2 separate regions of the Homo sapiens genome follow, and region 2 is linked to region 1. The links are contacts of gene promoters, found by promoter capture Hi-C in blood cells and fetal thymus (Javierre and others, 2016). All regions are on one chromosome and are shown on one strand. Each heading gives the region's core, a stretch centred on a gene start or on the middle of the fragment in contact. The rest is flanking DNA. Distances are from core to core; before and after follow the strand shown.

Evidence for each region. Contacts are between HindIII fragments. The CHiCAGO score rates a contact against its expected background, and 5 or more counts as called.
Region 2: a fragment that was not itself captured here is called in contact with the fragment with the promoter of GSPT2 in region 1 in 1 of 17 cell types (fetal thymus); the score reaches 5.2 in fetal thymus.

The regions. Positions count from the first base shown.
Region 1 is chrX:51,740,715-51,748,284 of GRCh38, reverse strand. It overlaps GSPT2 (G1 to S phase transition 2), which reads right to left and starts at 4,843. Exons shown (of 1, transcript NM_018094.5): 1 at 2,053-4,843. The coding sequence starts at 4,658. The coding sequence ends at 2,772. The HindIII fragment of the contact is 6,668 bases long and covers 1-5,484 here.
Region 2 is chrX:51,776,019-51,783,588 of GRCh38, reverse strand. No RefSeq gene overlaps it. Among named protein-coding and RNA genes, the nearest start is that of GSPT2, 36 kb to the right of the region's middle. The HindIII fragment of the contact is 2,716 bases long and covers 3,544-6,259 here.

The DNA of each region.
Region 1 (7,570 bases), core at 3,594-6,093:
GAAATAGGGGATCTCTGAAAGGAAACTGCCCTGAACATGGTTTTTATAAATAGTTGGATGCCCTAGGGAAACTAGTACTCTGTGAATGGCCCCAATTTGGAGTATTGGAGAACACCATCAGATATCAACAACTATAAAGAAATGTATCCAGGAAGTTAGAAAGAAATGTTACCACGAATTTGTATCTACTTTGTTAAAGAGACAGTCCAGTATCTCCAAGCACCTGGATGATCTGCTTCTCACTGAAATGCAAATAATTGGTTTCTAAAATCTATTTCCAAAAATTGTCTTTTTCTCTGAAGGTTTTTGTATTTATATATAAACAGTTCAGAATGTCTGGTAGGGAAATTGCTAAACAATTGGCTAATGAGAAAGACATTTAGGAGCCAGTTTTTGATGGGAAATCATCCAAATTGGATGGAGACAAAGAGTTCTGTCCTGGCTTGTGGTTTTGGCCTATCAGTGGAACACAGCCACAAAATACTACTGGTAAATCACTAAAATTACAAAACAATGAGATTGATGCAGCAGCAAAAATAATTGCTTATAAAGTGGCTTCCAGGGCAAAACTTACCAAGTACTGGATGGTTTGTATTTTGTATGAGGTTCAGTGCATAGAGCTCTTATGATAAAAATAAAACTCTTGCCATTGACATTCTAATGATTAAAAAACTGGGTCCAAGACGTATGAGGCACATCCGTGTGGATTAGGTTAGCTTATGTATGACAAAATAAAAATCCTCATTTCCCACATGGGTGCCCTGAAGACCTATGGGCAGTACAGCCAAAATACTGATGCTCCAACAAGACCAGTGTGGCTATCTCTGACAGGTTAGACACCCTGGAGGTACATGTACACACAAAGGGACAATGTAGAAGGATACATTGCCTTTACCTGAGCATGAATGAGCCCAGGGTGTTGTGCCAGCAGTCCCCACACCTATTCAACTAGCTCATGAGTATGAGGTTTGACAGCAAAGCAAACTGTCTCTCTCTCCAGGTATACTGCTGTGCCTAAGGCACTACCCACTTAATAAGACAGAAGGTTCTTTAGTTGTTGACAGTTATTTGCAGGTTATAAGGCCACTCTCTTGCCAATAAATGTAGCCACCTCAGAATCCATAATTGGTGTTTTCCTCAAGAAGTTGTTCAGAGAAGTATCCAGTGCCTCTGACCCCAAGTGTAGGTCATGATCTGAATTTAAAAATGACTTCCCACCTTTCCTATCAACCCAAGCATGAAAGAGACAAAGGTGACATCATCTCATTTCCCAGCCCAGGAGTCACTAATCCTTAGTTTTTACTCAATGACCAAAGGCCCCATTGCAAGCATTTATCTTCTCAATAGCCATACCCCTTATTGGGTTGTGACCCATATCACAAGTTTCATGGTGAACAAAACCAAGAGCTGTGTTTGTTAAGATGATGGAGTACAGTTAAGAGTCTAGCCAAGGCTGGGCACAGTGGCTCACGCCTGTAATCCCACCACTTTGGGGGGCTGAGATGGGAGGATTGCTTGAGCCTGGGAGGTTGAGGCTGCAGTGAGCCATGACTGCACCACTGCACTCCAGCCTGGGTGACAGAGTGAGACCCTGTCTTTTAAAAAAATAAAGAGTCTTGTAAACCTATGGTCCAAATCTCCTATAATTTGGCCATGCTTAACGTGATGGGACCTGATGGAATACAGTAAGTCCTCACTTAACATAGTCCACTGGTTCTTGGAAATTGTGACTTCAAGTGAAATAACATCTAACAAAATGAATTTTTCCCCTTATCAATGTCATAACTAAACAACATTGAACAATGTCATAACTAAACAACATTGAACAATGTCATAACTAAACAACATTGAACAAGGTCATAACAACATTGAACAATGTCATAACAACATTGAACAATGTCATAACAACATTGAACAATGTCATACATTGTGCATTGTTGTACGATGTACACCTGCTGTACATTGTTTTGCTTAATGTTGTAGTCTTCAAGAACCTATGGATAATGTTACATGAACTACTGCTATACAAATAAAGACGGCCTGAGCCTTTCATTTTCAAATCACAAGTGGGGAAGCAGAAGAGCTCCTTTATTGACTGGACTTGGACAGAGAAAACAAAGCCCACTGGGAAGAGCCTTAACATACGTTTTTTTCTCAAAATTAAAATTATTCCTTTAATACACACTTATGCATTGTTTGTAAATTCCTCACTTAAAACAGTAAGTGGTGAAGAGTTTTTAAGTTTTTAAGTGATAGAACATATTCAACTATTTGAGAAAGTAATAAAGCTAATTGAATAGCATTACATAATGACATTTAAACATTATTCAAAAGCATTTCAAATAACCGAAGAGTTTCAAATGGAGTATTTTATTCACATGTTAGTTATCATTTTAACACACACACAAACACTGACACACTCTGGTTTGCGTGGAACAAGGGTGGTCTAAATATCCTAAAAGAAAATGAAAAATTAAAGTACATTAATTTTTCATTACTGTAGGCAATTACGTCCACATCACTTACAAAGCTATTACTGATATTGTCCAAGGAAGCAGAGTGGTACAGAGGAAGGAAACTTGAGGGTAAATTCATCAGTGACATAACAGATCTCAACATGAGAAAGCTGACAAAACATGAATTTTTGCTGTGAAATTTCTCTTTGCAAAATATGAAGAAAAGTCAATCAATGGGCAGTAAATAAGAGTAGGTGGTGAACTTTTGCTGTCAATTCTCCTCACAGTATCTTGCAGAGGCATCAAGAAAATTGCTTAGTCCTTCTCTGGGACCAATTTCAGAACTTTTCCAATTGCAATGGTCTTACCCTCATCTCTTAAAGTAAAACGACCCATCTGAGGAAAATCTTTGAACGTCTCGAGGCAGATGGTTCCTGCTGTCCTTAAACGAGCAATGCATACTTGATCTTGTTTCACGAAGCGGGGTCGTGTCTTACTTTTTTCTCCTGATTTTTTGTCTACCAAGGAGATTAACGCTGTTATCTCAACTTCCTCAATACAAGTATGAATGTGCAGCACCGCATTATAACCTGGGCAGATGATGGATTTGTGCTCAATAATCACTATCTGAACATCAAACGTGCGTCCAGAATGGCAGAGGTTACTAGGATCACAAAGTATGAATCCTGGAAGAATCTCTTCTTCTTCAATTCCCTTCAGTCTGATTTTGAGGTTTTCACCTGGGGCTACAAAATCAGTTTCAGTATCATCAGAAAGTATTCCAAGAACTTCTACATTGTGCTTGTTTGGCATCATCACGAGCTGCTGGCCTTTAAAAATGGACCCGGATTCCAGCTTTCCCAGGACCACAGTGCCCATATCTTTGTACTTATCCACAATTGGCAGTCTTATTGGTCCATCAATTGATCTGTTGAAGTTTGGCAAGTTATCCAAATACGGAATAAATGGTAATCCAGTGTACCAAGGGCAGAAATCTGACTGCTCTTTAATATTTGCTCCGGTCAGTCCTGAGCAGGGCATAAAGTGAATGTCCTTTTTTGGACTGAAGCCTACTTTTTTCAAAAAGGGCACCAGTTTTTCTTTACATTCTTCATATCTCTCGATGCTCCAATTTACTGTGGGATCATCCATCTTATTAATAAGCACTATTAAATGTTTTACCCCTGCCGTTTTTGCCAACATCGCATGTTCTCTTGTCTGTCCACCTTTTTCAAATCCAGTTTCAAACTCTCCTTTCCTGGCAGAGATGACCAGCACAGCCAAATCAGCTTGAGAAGCACCACCAATCATATTTGGGACAAAACTCTTGTGGCCAGGGGCATCTAAAATTGTGAAATGTTTCCTTTCTGTTTCAAAATAGGCACGACCCACTTCGACTGTTTTACCCTTGTCTCGTTCCTCCTGATTTGTATCTAAGGCCCAGGACAAATACCAGGTTTCTCTGTTTTTTTCCTTAGCTTCTCTTTCATATTTCTCCAGTGTTCTTTTGTCAACCATTCCAGTCAAAAACATTATCTGTCCTCCGATGGTTGACTTGCCAGCGTCTACATGGCCAATGAATACTACATTTACGTGTTCTTTCTTAGGTGCACCTGAGGGTACGATCACAGATTTGGATTTTCTTATTTCCTCTTTTTCCTCCATCATTTCCTGGCCACTTTCTTCTGGGGGCCCTGAATCTCCCGAGGAACCACCCCCAGGCTCGGCTTCACTTACTTCTTTACTGTGCTCCCATGATTCTTCTAGGGCCATTTCCACCTCTCCATTTTCTACAACAGGTTCTGAAAGTTCCATGGTAACGGCTGAATTGGAACCTTCAAGCGACACTAACGGTTCCTCTCGGGAAGGTTCCACAGGTGCCCCCCGTCCCATCCTTTTACCTTGAGGGTATCCCGCGCCGGTGCAGGTTTCATCGTTGCTGCCGGAGCCGGCCGGGAGGGTGGGCGGCTGAGTCGGGCCCCGCAGGAAGGACGGCACGAACTCCGCGGCGTGTACGTTAGGCACGAAGGGCTTGGCGTTGACGTTGAGCTTACGGCTGAAAGCCGAGCTGAGGGGCTCGCGCTGGGCCTCGGCCACCGCAGAGGAGACTCCATCCCCGCTCGGGGCCGACCCCGGGGATTCCATGTCCACCTGGTCCCAGCAATCGGGCGCCGAGTCGCTGCTGCTGCTGCCCGAATCCATGGTCTCGGAACTTGCTGTGTGGCAGTGAGGGAGCGGGCTCAACAGGCCAGAAGAGCGGGCTCCGCCGGCGGGGTTAAGGCAGCAAGAGCGAAGGGCCAAGGGGTAGCGACACGAACCTTAGCTGCACCGCGGAGGCAGCTAAGCGCCGATGCTGCATTCGCAACTGCGGCGGCAGCAGCAGATATGGCGGCTCAACACTCTCCTCTTGTGTGTGAGCGGATCTCCTCCCCCAAACCCCAACCACTTCCGACTCCTCCACCCCCGACCCAACGCCGGGCGTGGATTGACCCCTCGCTGCTATCCGTACGCTTGGCTTCCTTACTTCTTCTTAGCCACGGGCTAAGTCCAAAAGTATTATTTTTTAAAACGAAAATTTCCATTCACTTTTTTGTTCACACAGTCTGGCAGAGCAATTTGACCACAATCTGATGATTAAACCTAGACAGGAACACATGGTATACAATTCTACCAAAAGATTCAAGTAAAAGTGATCATTTCTATTGAACAAATGGGAGGCAAGATAAGGGTTAACTATACAGAAATTCAGAAACCCAGCAACTGAAGGGAGAGGCAAGGAATGGGTAGGGAGGGACTCATGAAATATATGAGTCTGTAGCCGAACTTAGGAAATGCAACTTAAGATCACTCATTAATTTGAAATCCACAGGCCTTTTGATTTTCCCTTTCCAGTGGGCCCCCATAAGCCTGTAACTTCTGCTGATGGCTTCTATAGTTTAAGGATAGGGTTACAACTTCTTTTCATGTTAAGCACCCTGGCTGTCTGAGGGGAGAGAATTTCCAAGGAGATCCTTGTTCCAGTGAAGCTTCCAGTCACTTCATATGCAGATGCCTGCACAATGGCTGGCCTGCCATTCAATGGTGGATCACGTAGACAAGCACAGGACTCAGATCACTCTTGTTTTACCAACCAACTGAATTCTGGGTTTATCTGCACTACTCCCCAGCACCTCCCTAGTACATCCTGCATCCACAGGCCTCGGGTTTTCCTGCTTCATTCCGGGGGGCCTGGAATCCTACTCACTGCACTGGCTTTGCTCTAAGAAACAATCAGTGTCATGTTGAACCCCTCTACAGTTTATGGTAATGAGACAGGGCTGTAGGTGTCAGCCTAATTAAACCAATTAAGACTTCTGAGATGAACAAAGACCTTAAGACCCTAATCAAAAGAATCTCACTCTCAGAAAGTGTTAACAGTTGAGTCAAAGCCTCAGCGACCTTGTTTGTAAATTAATTTAGTGCAAACTGACATAGAAAATACAAACTTATTCTCTGAATCTGTTTTTAGTCTTCATGTACTCAAATCTGTCACCTTTTGCTTTTATGAATTCAGGTTTTGTGACATACCTAGAAAGACTATTCAGTCCAAACAATCTGCTTAGTACAAGATGGTGTCACATAGATGGATTTATTTTTTTATTTTGAGACAAAGTTTCACTTTTGTTGCCCAGGCTGGAGTGCAGTGGCATGATCTCAGCTCACTGCAACTTCTGCCTCCTGGGTTCAAGCAATTCTCCTGCCTCAGCTTCCTGAGTAGCTGGGATTACAGGCGTCCGCCACCAAGCTCAGCTAATTTTTCTTAATATATATTTTTAGTAGAGACAGGGTTTCACCATGTTGGCCAGACTGGTCTTGAACTCCTGACCTCAGGTGATCCACCTGCCTCGGCCTCCCAAAGTGCTGGGATTACAGGCATGAGCCACCACGCCTGGCCTCATAGTTGGATATTTAAATCCAACAACAAAGCAAAATATTATAAAACCAAGTACCTGATTATAACTTGAGAATTGTGTTCTCCAGACTTTAGGGGTAGGAAAAAAGACAGACTTGGACCCTTGATGTTTTCACTCTGGGGCTGCCACTATTATACTAGCTCTGTACTGTTTCCACACCTTCATTCTTTTTGCCTCCGGTTATGGATTAATTATTTACAGTGACATAAAGAGAATGTGCACACCTATTCACAATAAACAGGAAGAACTGAGAGGTAGAATGTGCAGAGAGACCCTCCACACAAGTGCTGGAGCCTTCTTGGACATTGTGTGAACCTAGAATGGACATTTCTGGGAGAACCTGTCAAGGTTTTGGCAGCCGTGTTCACATAAGGTAATTCATGCAAGGAAGCAGGAGACATCTGGGATTTTTCCTTCACCTGGGTCGAATGCATTGGTCATGAACATATTGGTATGACTGCTACTTAGTGATATCTCAGAGAACAGAGGATACTTCACTGTTAGAACGATAAAGGAGAAGTCAGAAATAGTCTGTGAATGTCCTCATAATCCATCATTCATGAGGTTCCAGGGGAGGCAGTTCAACGCAAGAGAGAGAAGCACTGACCAGATTGTGTCCAGAGAGATTGGCCTTGGACAAAAATCTTTTGGTTTGTGTGATGGGATGCTTGTCTCCAGTCTTTCTGCCTAAGAGTTCATCAGTAAATGAGAGAATTTTCCTCACCAAAGAGGAAAATTTAAAAAAGAGTGTAGGTGATATCCAACCATTGCTTAATTCAATCTTTTTCCTCCTTTAAAAATCTTTTTTATTGTAAAATATAGCACAAACACAGAAAGTCACATTAAAAATTATAGGTTATTGACTTATGAGAAAGGAAACACACTTGTAACAACCATCCAAGTCAAGAGAAATTTGCCAGCCAGCCCAGAAGGCTTCCTTGTGCCCTGTTCAATCACAAATGACTTCCTCCACCTCTCAATGTAACTGCTATTGTGACATTTATGGTAATAACCTATACGATTTTCCGTATAGTTTTATTACACAAATGTGTACACTCAGACACTACAGTTCAATTTGGCCTGCTTTTTTGATATTTCTTTTAAGTCTTTTTTATCTCTGGATACCCAACCTATCTTCCCCTTTTTCATGTCATTTATTTA
Region 2 (7,570 bases), core at 3,652-6,151, 35 kb before region 1:
CAGGAGCACACCACCATGCCTGGCTAATTTTTTGTATTTTTGGAGAGACAGGGTTTTGCTATGTTAACCAGGCTGGTCTCAAACTCCTGGGCTCAAGTAATCCTCCGGCTTCAGTCTCCCAGAGTGCTGAGATTACAGGTGTGAGCCACCGTGCCCAGCCAGACCATTATTTTGAATGAACCTAGATGTTTTTTAAAAACCCAACAAAATATTAAAAATAGAACCCAAAGATGTATAAAAAGAATTAGAAACCATGATTAAGAGGGATTTTCTCACCACTCCAGCCCCAGCAGTAACACAAACTGTATAAATGCTTGACACATTCGTCACATTAATTAATTAATTAATTTTTACTGGACCATTCTCTCCATCCAGCAGTCCCGAAGTCAGGTAAAACTCAACATGACTAAAAATTCACTTACTGATTTATATGTTCCTCTGCCTGTCTAGCACAGTGCCTAGAACATAGTCAATATTACTACAAATAATATTTATTGAAAGAATAAATGTATCAGTTAAAGACAGATTACCACTATCCAACCACATAAGCCAAAACTGAGAGGCTATAGCGACAAATGACGTAGACTTTAGAGTCAAGTAGAGTTGCATTCAAATTCACCTCTCCCATTTACCAGATGTGTGAACATAAACAATGTTCTTAATATCTCTGAATTCTCAATGAATTTTTCCTCACCACCCGACTGCTTAGTCAATGTCATTTAGGTTCTTATGGGTTTTGTCTCTGTAGCACTTCACTTCCAGCACCAACAGCTATTTCAGTCAGGTTAAGCTAGATTAGGCCCTTGTAATAAAACATAACATTTTCTTGTTCAGTAGCTTAACACACCAATGTTTGTTTCTTGTTCACTGTACTTGTTTATCATGAATCAGAAGGGGTATGTGATCCACATTGAGCTCATTCAGGCACTCATAATGATGGAGACTATACTCTCTGAACTTTACCAGTTATAGGAGTAGGGAGAAGAAAGCATGGAGAAACACTCAACAATTCTTAATTGCTCCCAAAAGGAAGTGACCATTTTTAAAATTTCATTCATATTTCATTTACCAGAGAAAAGAACATTGCTACCTCTAACTTCAAGAGGACAAGAAAATGTGACATTCCCCTTTGTGCAGAATTTCCCAGATTCAAAATTGGTGAAGAGTGGTAATATCTATCACATATTTGTTTAAGAAACATTTAATAAATATTTGTCTTACATGGCATATCTGATTCATCAGCACATTCTGTCAGCTCTATCTTCAAATGTATCCTGAATCTGTACACTTCTCCTATCCTCTATTAACCTCTGTCACAGACTGGGTTCATTGGGATGCAGATAATGAGACAGAGTTAGGAGTGTCAAAATTTTATTTGGGACTGTATTAGTCAGAGTTTTTCAGAGAAACTGAACCAATATGAGATATATAAAGAGATTTATTACAGATGCTCCTCAACTTACCATGGGTTTACATCTAGATAAGCTCAGTGTAATTTAAAAATATTATAAGTAAAAAATGCATATAATATACCTAACCTACTGAGCATCACAGCTTAGCCCAGTCTACCCTAAGTGCACTCAGAACACTTACATTAGCATAAAGTTGGCCAAAATAATCTAACATAATACATATTCTATAATAAGGTGGTGGATATTTCATATAAGTTTGTTGAATACAGTACACTGTATAGTATTATTTGTTTACCATTGGGATTATTTGGCTGGCTGGGAACTGTGGCTCATTGCCACTGCCCAGCAACATGGGAGAGTATCATACTGCATATCACTAGCCCAGGAAAAGATAAAAAATTCAATTTTGAGGCAGGGTTTCGCTGTCACCCAGCTGGAGTGCAGTGGCATGATCATGGCTCACTGCAGCCTCAACTTTCTGGCCCCAAGTGATCCTTCCATCTCAGCCTCCTGAGTAGCTAGGACCACAGGTTCATGCCATCATGCCTGGCTAATTAAAAAAAATTTTTTTGTAGAGACGAGTTCCTGCTATGTTGCCCAGGCTGGTCTTGAGCTCCTAAACCAAGCTATCCTCCCATCTCTGCCTCCCAAAGTGTTAGAATTACAGGCATGAGACACTGCGCACATACAAAATTTCAAAATTTGAAGTATTTGAAGATCCTGAAGTAGCTAACAAGTGGAATTTGTCAGCTAACCACACTTTTCTCAGTTGGATGGCAAGTCCCACTTTAAAGGATTCCAGAGGTGCATCTCCATATGTGCCGCAGCATCATGATCTAAGCCACCATCATTTCTCATTTGAGTAATTGAGTAGCCTTTTACCTAATTTCCCTATCACTGTAGTCCCTCACCTTCCACTCTTGAGTCAGTACTCCTCACAACAGCCAGAGAAATCCTGTTCAAATGTAAGTTAATTTCCTACTTTGCTCAACAATCTCCAATGGCTCTCCACCTTGCTCAGATAAAAAACTTACTACAATGAACATCAAGGGCTCACATGATCAAATGACGGCATTTTCTATTTTTCCACAGGTCATATATCAACTTTTCAGAGAGACCTTGACTATCATACCAAAAATGGCACCCACTCTAATTCTCTATCACCATACCATGTTTATTTTACACGAAATCTTATCAGTACTAAACCTCATATAGATCTATTAATATATAAATATACACTAACATGAACATATGTAAAACAAAATGTAAAGTCTGAGAGAATACAAATTGTATCAGGTTTGTTCTCTGCCGCATCCCTACCTTCCAGAACAATGTGCAGTTTCTAGGAGTTGCTCAATAAATATTTGTTAAGGGACTTAGTCATTTCTTATGTTATCTTTTCTGACTAAAATGGAATCTCCATGAGGACCAGGACTTGGACAGTTTTAACTTTGGATCCTAGATCAATGCAATAATTATTTGTAGAATAAAGAAATGATGAATACTGAGTGCCCACAATGTACTAGGCCTCCTAATAGATGCTGGGCTATAGCAATAAGCAAAGAAGACTGGTATCTACCCTTAAAGATATTAAATAAATAAACAGTAACACAAACAAATGTATATTACAAATTAGAAAAGTGTATATAATGGGAAAAACCTAACACACTATCAGAGAATACACCCAGATTTTGCCGAAGGAGTTGGGAAAACATCCTAAAGAAAGTGATATTTATGCTGAGAACTTCAAGATGGGGAGGGGCTAGCAAGGTCAAGGAGGTGAAGAGAACAATGTTCTAGGCAGAAGGAATAGTATGTGCAAAGTGCCTGTGGCAGGAAAGAAAATGGAATGTTGATAAACTGGAAGAAGATCAGCATGTGTATATGCCAATGTCCTCCAGCCAAAGAGTGCCAGGAATGCACAAGTAGTTAAATAAGTTGGGTTTACTATTCATGGCAATAAAGGACAATGCATGTCAGGAAGAACAATGGTGTTTCAGAAAGATCATGATAGAAAGAATCTGTTATGGGATTTGGGATTTGATTGGGTGATTCTGGTATTTATGTCTATCTGGAGAACAACATGGTCTAGCCATCGGCAAGAGGCCATGCTACTAGCAACATGGAAGCTTAATTGTAAGTGTCATACCAGTGCCCAGATGTCAGGGACAAATTTTTCCCCATATGACTCAAAAGCAGAGAGATTTGGACACAACTGGCACAAGATCCTGGAGAGGTAGGCAGGGCCAGGCTATGCAGGGCCTGGAAGACCATGAAGACCATATTAGTGGAGTTGACTTTGATGCAAATTGCAAAGGGAAGCAGAGAACTTGCGCACTCTGATGAGGTTTAGTACTGATAAGTTTAAATCTATGTGTCAAGAATGGTAGAGGGCCTATGATTTTAACCTACTTGCAAGTTTACAAGTTCATTTGCCACAGATTGACATTCTGGCAGAAGACAGAAACCCTCTGGGTCAGAGGCAAAGGACTTTATTCCTTTCAACAAAAGTAGTTGCCAGAGCCTCCTGTTTGCACTGGCTCTGTATGCCCTCCAAGCCCCACGGGGGTGATGAAGGTGGACTTGCGTGGATGCTCACACTTGCTGAGAATTGTGTTACAAGAGAGGAACACTGAGCTTGGGAGATCCTATGTCTTTCTTGGGAGTGGGAGCAATCATGCTCTCTGTGGGGGGTGTTACCTCATCCCTCAAGCATCCCTGTTTGTTGCTCACTAAAAGAGAACTCTGAGAAATCTCCCAGGTAAAGAGTGGGGGACTTTGAATTATTGGTGTACTCCGCAAAAGCATAAAGGAATGCTCAGGGCTCCCAGCAGATTTCCTCTCCCAACACTGTGTCTTTAAAACATTAACATTTGGAGAACTGGCTCATTACCATGGAGAAAACTGACACTGAATCACTGGCCTACACTATATATGAATCATCCCTATCACTCCACAAACATGTTATGATCTCTCCCCTGTTAACCTCCACACCCCCTCTGGCTACCACCCCCCCACCCCACCACCCTATAAATGGAATGCGAGGAAGGGAACATACCCTGGAGTATCTCGGATGAGCAGAGCATGGACAGGGATGATGGCACTATGGTGAATGAAAAGAAGAGCTACCCAAACCCATAAGGAAGGCAGAGCAGGTAGAGGCAAAGAGGCTGGTGTCCTGGGCTGAGGACAGGAAAGAAGTCTAAACCTATGAACACTCCTGTCCCATGGAAGCATGAAAATGGCACACCAACAGGTGTTCTTAGTTTGAAGACAGGGTGTGTTTCTGGTGCAAACTGGACAATACCCAGAAGATAGGCACCAACTCTTCCAACCAACTTCCAAGCCTGACCCTTAGGGAAAACCTCACCCTGCATTTCCTAAGGGAGACAGATCTCCCTGATATATTGGTTGCCTTGGGGACTCAGGGCCATGACCCTGCTTCTAGGAACCACAGGTGCCTCACCGGGACCAACTTCTTCCCAGTTGGATTCATAACGGTCAGGTACTTTGTTGTGAACTGACTGAGATGATCTGCAGGTGGGTGGCCTAGTTGGACTTTATGGATGGATGAGACAATTCCTCTCCTACTAAAGAAAGAATAGCCCTGTTTAATCTGGTGTTCCATGATTCTGTCTCTTGTGATGTTGCCATGTGTTGATGATATCAACTTTACACTATTTCATAAGGTATTTCATAGTTTATATTTCATATGTAGCATTCACAAGTTGTTAACTGATCAAGTAATACCAATCATAGTCTCATTAATAATTTAATAGTGTCAATGAAGAGAGGCAGACTCTGTAAAATATTTGGAGAGATTTATTCTGAGCCAAATATGAGTGACCATGGCCCATGACACAGCCCTCAGGAAGTCCTAAGAACATGAGCCCAAGGTGGTCAGGATGCAGCTTGGTTTTATACATTTTAGGGAGACATGACACTTCAGTCAAATACATTTAAGAAATACATTGGTTCGGTCCAGAAAGGTGGGACAATTTGAACTAGCGGGAGGGGGCTTCCAGGTTACAGGTAGATTTAAAAATTTTCTGGTTGACAATTGGTTGAGTTTAATCTAAAGACCTGGGATCAATAGAAAGGAAATGTCTGGGTTAAGATAAAGAACTGTGGACACCAAAGTTCTTATTGTGCAGAGGAAGGCTTCAGAGAGAAAAGATTGTAAATGTTTATCAGACTTAAGGTCTGTGTTGATGTGAATGCCAGAGAGGTACAATGAGGCACGTCTGAACCGCACTTCCCATCATGGCCTGAACCAGTCCCTCAGGTTAAATTTTAAGTGTGCCCTGGCCTAGGAGGAAGTCCGTTCAGATGTTTTGGGGGTGGTGCTTAGAATTTTATTTTTGGTTTACATTCTCCTCCTTCTTGACAAGATTTGCCAGAGGCAACATCAATAGCCAGTAAATTTATTTGTTTATTTATTTATTTAGCCAGTAAATTTTTATTTTCTCTCATAGCGTTGCTGGGGTGGCAGGGCTGCCCTCCCTGGGTCCATCCTGTCCCTCGGTGGAAGTCCCTATGGCCAAGGACCTTAAGAGTAAAAAGACTTACAGCCAATTAATTGTTATAGGCCAGATAGGATGAACGTGGACAGGTATTTATTATCTCTTAAAATTATTATTATTTTAGGTAAAAAGCCAACAAACAAAAACCAAAGGCAAGGTTACAAAACTGACTGTAACTTTTATGCGTTGACCTACTATAAGTTTGGATTTAGTTACAGATTTGTAGCAATTAGCTATACAAATCATAAGCACTGCTCTGAAAAAAAAAGTTTTAATATATTTATCTTCTCAACTCATAACTGGGAGTATTATATCCAGGAAGCTTTATCACAAGGTATCTTTCTTGTGTCACAGATATTTTCTTTTAATTCTACAGGGAGCAAAAAATGCTTTATGGTTGGGGTGGATGCAAAAGTGACACATAATAGCTTAGAAGACAAAGTCCCTTGTTTTACCAGCTCTTTAGGCATCTTTGTATCTATCCTTGCTTTGGAGGGTCTGATCTTGACCTAATTTTATTCCTCAAAACCAGCCCTTACTATCTCTCACACCCACGTCTTCTGTGACGATCCCTGGGCCTGGGGGGATGGTGCTTGCATCGTTTTAGCAGTAGGGCATTTGCAGTGAAAAACAGATCAGACCCAGTGGGATGCCAAATGAGGGAGATTTGCATCTCTGGTCTTCAGAAAACCATGATTTGGGTTTCCTTGGAAGTAAAACAAGGAGAGATAATAACATTAATGTTTTGACAATCAAAGAATTTTTGTGTGTTTGAACAGAAAAAGGAACCTATTCCATTAGGGCACCAACTAAAGATATGAAGAAAAATTATAATCTAGTACTCTGTAGAGGATTATTGTAGCCAAGAAATAATTCATGATTCAATCTGCACTTAAAAAAAGAAAAGTTAGGGCTGAAATCTAGTATCAAGTGTTACGCTTTTCCTTGGAAACAATTTCTTTTACTCTAGCCCTCCTTTTCTATTAAAGAGAAATTATAGTAAGACCAATTTGTGTGCGAACTAGGTTTTAGGCTTATTATACTTGGCCTGATTATTTGCATAAAATGTAACAAGAATTGATTGGCCATATAAGCTCCTTTTAAGTTGGCTTTGCTGGAACTTTACCTAAAATATGCTATTTTAGTTAAAGTCTTGGTAAAATAACCAGTGTCTCCAATTGTTTTGTTTTAAAAGACTATTACTAAATTTATGCAAGTAACTATATTGTCATGAAATCACAACCCGAATTCTGGAGAACTCAGGTACAGAGAAAGGTAAATTTGCTTACAAAAACATACTTCACCCAAATAACTCAAAAGAAAACGATTTTTTTTTTATCCTTCTTTAACCAGAGCAGCAGCTTTCAAACAAGATGTTTGTTCACCTTGGAAATGCCATTCGCAAACCAAATAACTCATGGGAGCTGTCTATCAGGCACTGTAGAATCTAGCAGATCCTCACATAGTGAGAATTAGTCCTAGGGAAAAAAGAAGCTCTCTGCTTATAAGTTTCTCCTCCTTGTATCCCCAGGTAGCAAGATTCTATGTAAACCATTTTTTATTTTACTCTTTGGGGCACCATTATTTTCATTCAGCATAGGGGTAGCTTCAGTTAACATTTCATAGCAAGGCAGT